Regions from separate parts of the Homo sapiens genome. Here regions 1 and 3 are each linked to region 2. Evidence: promoter capture Hi-C in human tissues and cell types (Jung and others, 2019). All regions are on one chromosome and are shown on one strand. Each heading gives the region's core, a stretch centred on a gene start or on the middle of the fragment in contact. The rest is flanking DNA. Distances are from core to core; before and after follow the strand shown.

The links. The method cuts DNA at HindIII sites, captures the fragments that hold promoters and counts their contacts. A contact is called where the count stands out against the background at its distance.
Region 1: a contact is called between a fragment that was not itself captured here and the fragment with the promoter of ARFGEF1 in region 2, in 1 of the 25 tissues and cell types used here (lymphoblastoid cells).
Region 3: a fragment that was not itself captured here is called in contact with the fragment with the promoter of ARFGEF1 in region 2 in 1 of the 25 tissues and cell types used here (mesendoderm cells).

Annotation. Positions count from the first base shown.
Region 1 is chr8:67,722,581-67,726,309 of GRCh38, forward strand. All of the region lies in intron 1 of CPA6 (carboxypeptidase A6), which reads right to left. Among named protein-coding and RNA genes, the nearest start is that of CPA6, 22 kb to the right of the region's middle. The HindIII fragment of the contact is 4,297 bases long and covers 1-3,729 here.
Region 2 is chr8:67,341,500-67,345,182 of GRCh38, forward strand. It overlaps ARFGEF1 (ARF guanine nucleotide exchange factor 1), which reads right to left and starts at 2,282. Exons shown (of 39, transcript NM_006421.5): 1 at 1,665-2,282. The coding sequence starts at 1,788. ARFGEF1-DT (ARFGEF1 divergent transcript) reads left to right here and starts at 2,335. Exons shown (of 5, transcript NR_136224.1): 1 at 2,335-2,803. RefSeq lists an enhancer at 1,296-1,976 and silencers at 1,903-2,132, 2,313-2,572. The HindIII fragment of the contact is 2,723 bases long and covers 1,283-3,683 here.
Region 3 is chr8:66,968,937-66,972,879 of GRCh38, forward strand. The region is part of intron 7 of PPP1R42 (protein phosphatase 1 regulatory subunit 42); the gene reads right to left. Among named protein-coding and RNA genes, the nearest start is that of TCF24, 8.3 kb to the left of the region's middle. The HindIII fragment of the contact is 6,698 bases long and covers 1-3,943 here.

The DNA.
Region 1 (3,729 bases), core at 546-3,045, 380 kb after region 2:
CCCTGATCGGCTGAAACTGAGATACTAATTTATAAACTTGGAAACCTTGGCCTTTAACCAGAGCTTACAAACTGTAGGGGAAAGATTATCCTTTTGCCCTATGATACCCTTATTTCAGGGACATTTGGAGCACTTGATATTTTTTATTTCCTCATCATGTGTTGGGAAGAAGAGATGCCAGGAACACAATGACAAGTCCAAGACATGCAAATCAAAATGGAACCCAGGTTTCTTCTTACTTAGTTCAGTTCTTATGAAATACATCACTATGTAATAAAATTAAATCTCTCATGTTGGTATACCAGACCATTTTAATGTTAAAGGGAGAAGTTGATTTACGCTCACAAATTACCACTACCACCATTTCCTCCCCACCAAAAGAAAAACCTAAACATACACTAAAACATCCCCTACACTCTAAAAATCAGCACATTTCCAAAATAGAATCATACATATTACTCTCAAACTCTATTTTCATTTTAAAATATATCACACACACCCCTCTAGTTCAATATATGCCATAACTCATTCTTTGTAATAGCCTCATAACATTCCATATTATAGATATATCATGATTTTTCTATTGTTCCCGTACTGATGGACTTTGTTTTCAGCTTTTAGAAAAATCAACACATACAGTGCTACAATTTTAACACACATGCTAATTATTTTATTTCAGACAGGTATTTTCTAATAGGATTTATCAAAAGGGTGTGAGGATCTTAACTCTTAAAACTTTTTTTGACATATAGAAATTTTTATTTAAATAGAGACGAGGGTCTCACCATGTTGCCTAGACTTGTCTCAACCTCCTAGGCTCAAGGAATCAACCCTCTTTGGCCTCCCAAAGTGTTAGGATTACAGGCGTGAGCCACCGTGCGTGGCGGAGGATCTTAACTTTTATTAGATTCAGCTGATTACTTTCCGAAGAGGTTATAACAATTTGACCTTCTCTGGCACTATATGACAGTTCCAGTTGCTTCCTCATCCTCACCAGCACTAAGCATTTTCTATCTATGGGAAAAATTAAAACACTTAATTGTTTTAATTTGCATTTCCTTGTGAGTGAAATGTGCCTTTTTATGTAAGTTAGTTTTTCTTTGCATATTCTCTTCTGTAAATGGCCCTCTAGGATAAAATTAAGTTATATTCTTCCTTATACTGTGTACAAAAAAATAATTCCATATAAAGATCTAAATGTAAAAAAGAAAAATTATGCAAAATCAGCAGGAAAACAATCCTAGAATATTTAGAGTGGGAGCAATATTTGACATTTTTAAACAAGCTAAAACTAAATACCACAAAGAAAGAAAAACTAATGGTGGATTTGAATTATAACCATTAAGATGGTTTCTATTGCTCTTTTCCTTACAGAAAAAGTCAAAAGACAAATGACAGATTGGTAAAGAAGCATGTGTTACAGATATGATACACAAAGGATTAATATCTCTAATACATGGTTCTCTCAGAAGCTGATAAGAAAATGCAAAATTAAAAATTTAAAAAAACCCAAAAATGAGCAAAGCATACAAATTCACTGACTTTTTTCCCTCTCTGACACACTACTTCTGAAGTCCCCTGTGTTTAAAATGTAGAACCTGTGCTTGTTTACATCAGATACATCAATGAGTAGATGTCTCTCCTCCTACATGGCCTTCTCACACTCACCTCTTTTCTCTAGCTGTAGGGCCTCTTGGCACCAGGGTCTGATTTTCTCATGTGGTGTGTTGCCTTTGGTAAACCTCACATACCTCCTAATCACAGCTGAGCTGTCCTTTTGACGTGTGCCCCCACGTCTCCCCTTTCAACTCTGCAGCGAACTTACAGCAGCTCAATGCTTCTTGAAGCCAAAAGCTTATATTCAGAAAGCTCTGTACACAAAACAAAAAGCCCCACTGAGCACCACTTCACCAATTTCAGGTGTGCCCTACAACGGAAGGACACATTTACTTGCAGAGTTTAGAAACTGAGTTTTGAGAAGACACCTGTGTAGCACTTATATCTATGAGAATTGAAAGCAACTACTTGCATACCACACACATAGATGAGGAACAACTGAGACAACCCAAGACAAAGTGCTTTGCAAAGTCTAATGTCCTACATACAACTGACAGTAAGCCATTGGGCCCAGTTTCCCTTAAAACCACACAATTAAAAATAATCAGTAAGCAACGGGAGCAATCATGTACCCCTTACTTCCTTTCCCAAGCTGGAGACTCTCAACAGCTCTGATCTGCTCTCACAGCCATGCCCAACAAATTCCTCATCATTCAAGGCCCTGCCTTAAGGATAACATCTTCAGGAAGTCCTCTTCCATCTTAGACTCATCCCCCAATTTTTGGTTATCAGTTCCTTCTGAGTTGTTAGCATTCTGTGTTAACAAGTTATAAAGGAGAAGTCCCTTATAACTTTAACCACAGTTGTAATTAATCTGAGTTACCTGGGCTAGAATAGTCGGCTACCTGGGCTAGAGTGGAAATTCAGTGAAAACAAGGATCATGTCCATTTTGTGTAGAGTGCTTAGCATGGTTCCAGGTATGTATTAGATGATCAAAACCTTTGTTGAATGAGTAAAGAAAAACCACAGTATCTTGTTTATTTATATCATAGCTGTTGTAAGAGTTTATAACTGTTTACTTGTTCATTGTTTGTTTCCCTCGTGAAATTATGGGCTTCACAAAACAGGTGCTTTTTTTCTGCCTTAGTGCTAGCCCTTTATATTCCTAATATCTAAAACAATTTGGGACATATAGGTGCTCAATACAAATTTAACAAATAAATGAATATAGGCCTCAGTATATGCTGTTGTTGGTGAACAAGGAACTTTGAGATCATCATCACCTCCATTTTCAAAACTTCATGACTGAAAATTGTAAGCAACTTCAATCTCCATAGACTTTAAGTCATTTTACATCTACATTGTTACTTAATGTACCAGTATTTTACATTTCGTTTTTTTAGAGATGGAGTCACTCTGTCACCCAGGCTGGAGTGCAGTGGCACAACCATAGCTCACTGCAACCTTGAACTCGTGGGTTCAAGAGATCCTCTCACCTCTGCCTCTAGAGTAGCTAGGACCACAGACTTGTGCCACTGTGCCTGGGTTTTATTTTAAAATTGTTTTTGTAGAGACAAGGTATTGCTGTGTCACTCAGGCTGGTCTCAAGCAATCTTGGCCTCAAGCAATCCTCCTGGTTCAGCAATCCTCCTGCCTCAGCCTCCCAAAGTGCTGGGATAACATGCGTAAGCCACCATGCTTGGCTATTTACATTATAAAACACAAAAAATTAAAATGTACTTAAGAATGAGATAAAATAAATTTTAGATATGTATGCTACTTTGGACCATCCTACTTTGAAGATAATTTTTTTTCTGGATGACAATGGGTACCCCAGATTTGCGCTATGATCTGTCACTTAAGATAGCTGCAAATTTAAGATTTTTCAACATTCCTTAACCAGAAGCCTGAGTTTTAAGACAAAAGCCTCTTTAATCAAGGTTTTAGAACTCATGAGAGCAAGACAGAGGCCAAGAAAAATGATTTGTAAGTGATTGAAAAATAATTTTTATTCAGAAGCTCTTTTTCTTATAGTTTTCAGGTTGAGGTTACTGGTTAGGGAGATAATGAAGTATATATAGATCACTGGTGATGTCTACTCAAACAGTGAGAAGTTCAAAGTGATGGAAAGTCAGAAAAGATTAGGGAAGAGGAATTTTATCAAGCAGTGG
Region 2 (3,683 bases), core at 1,032-3,531:
GGCAGGAGGAATGCCTGATCCTGGGAGTTTGAGGCGGCACTGAGCACTGATTGTGTCACTGCGCTTCAGTCTGGGTGACAGAGCAAGCCCCTGTCTCAAAAAACAAACAAAAATTTAAAACTTTAATTTGAATCTCTCTAAAGTTCTTCAACCTTCAAGTAATTTACAAACCTACATATAACAATTCTTTTAAAAATCCTGAAATCACTTTCTCCCCAGTCTCACTCCAATTTAATATTATTCCTTTCAGGATCTAGATATAAATACAGTTTTTGCCACTAGACAACTGTCTTCTCATACACCGGGAACAGTCTTTTGTTAGCTACAAAAATAACAAAATGCAAACTTCTGGTCGATAAGTAAGGTGAAAAAATAATCTTAAGCCCCTAATACTACACATTCAAATGTTTTAAGATGAAATTTCTTCGACGTTTTTCATATTACCAATTTTAACGATCTAGGAAAAAAAAACTACAGTATATTACAGCAAATTAAATGGTAGTCTTCCATTTAATAATTAAAAGCTAATTTTAAGTTGTCTAGACTCCTTAACTCTAGCATACTTTAAGTTATTGTGGATTTTTCCCCTTTCAAGAATGCTTTTTTGTAAAGCCCATTTAACAAGCTTCCTTTTCTTGCCAATTTGACCTAGTGTATTTCCAGTGCTATAAAGTGTAAACATTAGGAATGTATCTTTGTGTTAAATGTTCTGGTCTCTCAAACGATTTCAACTTTGATGGATGCAATAGATCTAACAATGTTCCCCCTTTAACAACTCCTCATCTGCCTAACCTCATAGGTAGGAGGTATTGTTTGGATTTTCCCTGCTGCGGGCTTCATTACACTAGATCTCTTCCATCTGAACTATAAATCACAATTCAAGCTTGAGAGCAGCTGCCACTGTCCAGACATGTGGCTGGTGGGTGTCATTGTCTTTTTCATTTTCCTCATTTCAAACCCTCCCTTCCCTTGTCACCTAAAGCCATTTTATCTAAAGGTTCTTTGCTTCCCTGCTTTCATGCCGCCACCCCCACCCTCACCCCTTAACCACCGGTCTTGTTCTTCCAGGTCAGCCCAGTCAGATACAATATTACTCTATGTTTTTCCTGTGGCGGAGGCGGAGAGATGTCAGAACGGGCTGCACCTCTTGCAAACCCCTTCTCAAGACTGTCAACAAGGAAACAACTTCAGCAGCCTATCTCCCCAAAGTACCTCGCCAAACGAAAAAGTTATTGTTAATTATGATACGGAACCTTTCCCACACCCAATCTTGACATACCAGCCCCACCTCAATTTCCAAGCTAATAAACAACAGCTCATCTTCTGCTTCATCACAAAGGGTGGTATCCAGTCCGCACCTCACGGACCACCAACAAAATCCTCTCACTCTCAAGTCGATCCCTCGAACCCAGGTGCCCCGCGATCCTAAGCCCTGCCGCGTTTCCCGAGCCCAGCTCACTGCCCTTCCTCCTCTACCCCGCCTCTGCCCCACATCCAGCCGAGTTCCTGTCAACTCCAGACAGGGAACAGAGGGCTCCGCGAGGGCTTCCCGAGGTCAGAGGCGCGGGCCTCGGGCAAGCCCCGGGCGACCCCACCCCCCCACAGGCGCCCCCCTCCCCGCCCCACAACAAGCACCCCATCCCCCGGGCCTCCTCCCCGCTCACCTAACGCCACCTCGCAAGCTTTGCGCAGCTGGGAGTGATGCGCCTTCTTCACTTCCTTGTCGGCCAATATCTTCTCCAGAGCCCGGGTCAGGAACATGTTCTTCGTCTTCTTCCCCTCATACATGGACGCAGAGAAGGAGGCGGCGGCTCGTCCGACCCGCGGCTCCCAGCGGCTGGAGGGGAGGAGGAGGAGAGGAAGGAAGAGAAGAGAGAAAGGAGAGGGGGTGGAGGTGGGGGATTGGAGGCGTGGAGGGCAGCGGCAGGATCAGGAAGGGGCGGGCGAGCGGGACCAGCCGCGGTGTCGGCGAAGGGCGTCGAGGTCCTCGCCGCCCCCAAGAAGCCGTACCTCGAGGGCCGCGCCCGTCGGGCCTCCGCTTCTCCCGGCCCGGGGGTCGCGTCCCGGCCGCCCCTCTCACTCGTCCCTCCGGCCCTGGTGGCGGTGAGGGAGCCCGGCCCGGGCGGCTGTCTGCCGGGAACTGAGGGACGAGGTGGCGGCGGCTCTCAGAGGCACCGCGAGAGAAGGGCTACCCTGGCTACTGTGGGGATTAGCACCCGCCGCGGCCGCGAACTGGCCCCCATCACCGCCGACCTGCCCCGGCCGCCATGTTGGGAGGAAACGACGCGTCACGCAGCGGCCGAACGGCTGCAGACGAGGAAGCGGCGGCGGCGGCGGCGGCGGCGGCGCTCCCTGCCCAGAGCTGCCGCGGCGCCGGGAGGCTGGGGGCGGAGGGCGGCGCGGGAGGAGCGGCCCGAGCCGCAGCGCTACGGCGGCCCGGCGGGGCCTCCAGCGTTCGCCTGCAGGGCGGCGTGGGGCGTGGCGGGCCTCTGGTGGCACCGCGCCCAGCACTTCGGGCTCTTGGTGGCGGCCGAGCTGCGGGACCAGAGATCCCCCCACTCGGCACCCCTGCTCCTGCCGAGTGAACAGGACTCCTGGCTACTCTGCACTGGCTTTCTAACTTTCTGATGGGGGTGCAGTCCTTTGCATTCCAGGGGTCACAGCAACACCCGCATCGCCCGTTCTCAGCCGCAGGGTCTCCGCCTGCATCACTCGACTCTAAAATTTCCTTCCCTAGTGCACGGAACTGCTGTCCAGGACTCTGCTCTCCGACTACCTCAGGGAGGATTCTGTTTTGGGAAAAGTAAGCCAAAACCTATTGATAAGGGTTCAAAAATGTTTCACTTTTTTCTCTCTCTGTCGGATAAATCGGTCAACTCTAGATTTCAGGTCCCTTCTGAATTGACTCAGTTAAGGTGAATGGTTGTGAATGAGGTCCCTTAGAGTTCTGTGTTTCTGTGCCTTTAATACTAAGATTTAGTCCAGGACATGTAAACCAGTTTAGAATGGAAAAGCTTTAAGTACAAACAGATTAACACACGTGACCATGTGTTTGCTTTAGTCTGAGTGTAGAACTCAAATTTCTGCAGTATTTAATTTCTACAGTTTCCTTCTGAGCAGAAAAAGAATACCATAAAAATATTTGCAAACATTATATATGGTGATCTAGGGTCACGTCTCCAAGTTCTAAGCTTCTGTGGCTCCACGCACACAGGTTCCCTAATGTTTACTATGCATCTGTCACTGTTCTGTTCTATTAGATTGCCTTAACTATAGGCTTGTCCTAACGTAACCATCCAAACCTAAGGAAGGAGAAACTTAAGTGACTCTGTGAACTTAGTGAAGTGACCAGATTTAGGAAGGCTAAAACCCAGAGGAAATAAAATGGAAAACTTGAAGGTGACAAATTAAAGTGGAAAAATAGATTAATTTTTTTAAACTTTATTGTCCTGAGAAACAAATCTATAAATTCATTAATTTTATTTTAGAGACTATCTCTAGATTCCTGGAAATGAAGGATTCATTATACTCTTAGATCAGATATAATACTGATTTCTGTGTATACGTTAATAAACTTTTTTAGAACAAGTTCCATTTCTTTTATTTTTTTCTTCCCTTCTTTCACAGGTGTTGATCCATTTCTAATTCATCTTTGTTTCTTCATAATGGAGTGTTGTGCCAGG
Region 3 (3,943 bases), core at 1,083-3,582, 370 kb before region 2:
ATGGTGGCAGAGGCAGGACATTCTTATGTTCTCACAGAACCCTTTTGGTTTGCTGGCTTCATTTAGGATAGCCTATCTTTGCAGTACATAGTAGTTTGTATTTTAAAAAATGCATTTAGTTCTGTATTTAGTGTTCGTAGTTAGGAAAATGAGGGTAGAGTGATTTATTTGATGTTTTATCAGTGTACTCCTAGTGACTTGAGCTTTGCTTGGGGCTACAGAATATGTGGAATGGGCCACAGCTCACTATTGATCTAACAATGCACGTGGCAATGTATAGAATTCATCAACATTGTTTTCTGAGGCTGTGTACATTTTTATTGTTTTATTTTCTTCCTTGATGATATACTAGCAAGATTTTTCAAAATGCTTGGCAAAGCAACAAAACTTAAGAACACTGTTGTGGAATTGATAACAGTTGTGTAAATCTTTAAGAAATTATTGTGGTGCTATGGACAAGTAGGCAATGGTTTGGTGATAATGACAATGGACATAAGCAGTAAATGTCTCACATAGCTCCTGTTTTATTGTGAATGGAGAGGAGGCAAGACCAAAACGAGGACTCCCTGCATATCCTTTCACTTCTCCCCAAATAAAGCATTTTCCATACCCACAGACCTTCTCTCTCCTAAGACTGCATCCCAGCAAGCCTGAGCCACTCTGCAGGGAATAGGGGTAGGACAGTGCAGCAGTAATGTTCACAGGGCTTCTTGAGGTGGGCTGTACTAGGCAATTCTAAATCATCATCCCTCGATGGGACCCTTCGAAGAGGGTGTCATGATAAGCCCACTTGACCTTCAGCAGGCAGTTCTGGGAAAAGGAAAACGATTCCAAAGTATGTCCCCTGGCTCTGTTTACTTTCTCAATGAAATATGCTATTATTGGCCTTTAGTATATTGCGATCACTAATCTTATTTGGTTGGAAGGATCAATAGAGCAATCATTGTATTGATTATAAATGAAAAAATAAGTTTAATGCAAAATTTATAAGATGTATTAGGATCTGGTTTTTAAAGCCCATAGCATTTATCACATTATAGAGTAATTATATCACATTTGACTCCCCAGCTAGCTTGTGGCAAAATATTTGAGATCAGGATTATCTCATTTGAGTTTTTATATTCAGTGTTGCCCAGCATATGGCAGATGTCTCATGTTTTATATATAAATGAAATTACTTTCTGGTATGGGTATTTATTTATTTAATTTATTGAGATGGGGTCCCACTCTGTTGCCCAGGCTGGAGTGCAGTGGAGCGATCTCAGCTCATTGCAGCCTCTGTCTCCCAGGCTCAAGTGACCCTCCCACTTCAGCCTCCAAAGTAGCTGGGACTATAGGCACGCACCACCATGTCCAGCTAATTTTTGTATTTTTTTTTTTGTAGAGAAGGGGTTTCTCCATGTTGGCCAGGCTGGTCTTGAACTCCTGGACTAAAATGATCTGCCCACCTAAGCCTCCCAAAATGCTGAGATTATAGGCGTGAACCATTGTCCCCAGCTCTGGTTTATTTTTCCATCAAAGCAATACCTTTTTTAAACCAAAAAGCAAATTTTTCCTCATCAGGAGAAACTTCTGCCTCCTTCAGAGACAACAGCTTAAAAATCTGGTTTGTAGAAGTGGTGAAAGTAGTCTAATTCTGTAGGCCTCTGGACTTTCTGCAACCATATGCTCTGAAGTCGCCCACCCACTGGTGGACTAGTCATCATCAGCTAGGCCTCAGGCTCCTTTGACAGAATCCCTGATCATTGAGACATCTTTACCTACTGCCTCTGGGACTTTTCGGAGTCTCCTACCTTACCTCAGTGGGTGTATCCAGTCTAACGCCGAAGTCTTCTGGAAACACCCCTTCCCATCGTAACTTTCTGAGTGTTTGGGCAGACCAACAATGAACTTTTTTTTTCTTTCTTTCTATGTTTGGCCAAAAAGGATTGAGAACAAAGAACTAGGAGACAGATTGGATGGCCTCTGTTCCTCTTTGTTTACTGTGAAGATGTCTCCTCCCCACCAAAAAGATAAAGTCACATAAATATTTGAAAGAACCTACCCCATCTCTTAAATAATTTTAGTGTAATCTTCTCAGGAACTTTCTGGAGATGCATTTGCATTTACAGGGTATCTCTGTATTTCAGAGAAAAAGGCTAATTTTGGCTTACCCACCTGTGGGTAATAAACAGGAACTATATGATGCATTGTTTTGAAGTTACCTGTAGCACACAAAGAAATAAAAGCATTCTGCTTTGAAATTAATAACTAAATTTTTAAAAAGGGTATAACAATATTAGATTATCTAAAAATTAAATAAAGCCAAATGAATACACAGTAAAACTAGTAATAAAATTAATAACCCGAGGAAAAAATAGCACAGACTTTCATATACAAAAACCTATACAGGAAAGTTCATGATCAACTCTTAAAATAAAATGAGCATGCCAACATTAATATAAACATTAACTGCCCTTAATTTTACTGTTCTGAGTTAGTTTATTTTTTCAAATTGTTTAACTTGTAGGGAGTAAATTAATCGTGTATCGTTTTGGGGATATGTCCATACCTTTATTCTGGCACTTAACATTCCATATCATTTACCTGCTTTCAGATCCTCCTCCCTTTCCAGCAGTAATTTCCTTTTAAGTAGGGACAGCCCTATTCACCTCTAATCCACAGTGGCTGGCATATTCTTGGACACATTCGAGGTGCTTAATAAATGTTTATTAAATGTTTGTTATGAATTTTTCTATAGAAGTGCTATAAAAGAAAGGGCTAAAAGATGTGAGTATAATATTTTGGATTTTATTAAGATATTAAAGTATGTTTACAATTTTGTGTTATATAGCTATATGGCTATACTTAGGATAAGATTTTTAAATTGTAAGATCCTTGAAGTTAGAGGTTATAATAATTCCTATAATTTTACCATAATCCCCAATATAGAGCTCCAAATTTACAAGGCTATCAAAAACACATAAAAGATTAGGAAGTACAAAAATTATTACCATCTTTTTAAGAATTCCTGTTCCCTTACAATGTATTTGGTTGCACAGAGGTGCCTTTAAAAAGTTCATCTTAACTCTTCTAAAGACCTGAAAGGTAGGTATACTGTAGATTTTGAAAATACATAATATATTTTCTAGATTTTAATTTATGCTTTCCCTTTCTCTTGCACAGTTATAAAAGAGTCTTTGCATAAAGACCATATAGTATGCTATTGGACATATACAAAAGGATAGAGTTATTGTATATTACATACGTGTATACAGGGATGTCACTGCTTTTAAGCCTGAGAGTTCCAGGTTTGTACCATCTGTTTGGATGGGGATGGCAAACATGGGCAAAGGGGAGGGAGGACCTACAAATGGCCAAGGAAGAATAACCAAGTACTCCTGAGAAAAGCTCAGAAAATTTTCTGCTGCAGCTACTCAGTGTGTTCACTTTAAATTTTATTTTAATTGATTTTAGAGACCATTTTTTTTTGAGACAGAGTGTCATCTTGTCACCCAGGCTGGAATGCAGTGGCACAATCTCGGCTCACTACAACCTTTGCCTCCCGGGTTCAAGTGATTCTCCTGCCTCAGCCTCCCTAGTAGCTGGGATTATAGGCGCCTGCCACCACACCCGGCTAATTTTTGTACTATTAGTAGAGGCGGGGTTTCACCATGTTGGCCAGGCTGGTCGTGAACTCCTGACCTCAGGTGATCTGCCCACCTCAGCCTCCCAAAGTCCTGGGATTACAGGCATGAGCCACCGCACCTGGCCGAGACCATTTTTCAATATAGTAAATTATGTAATCTATTTGAGTACTCCCTTTAAAATTTTGAAATTTGTCATATTATCCTATTTCCTCTAGCTCCTTTTTAGTTATAAAAATTGTTTACATATCACATATTTCCACATCTGTTATTTTCCCAAATTCCCACCAAATTGAAGTGAATTTCTAAGTAGAGCA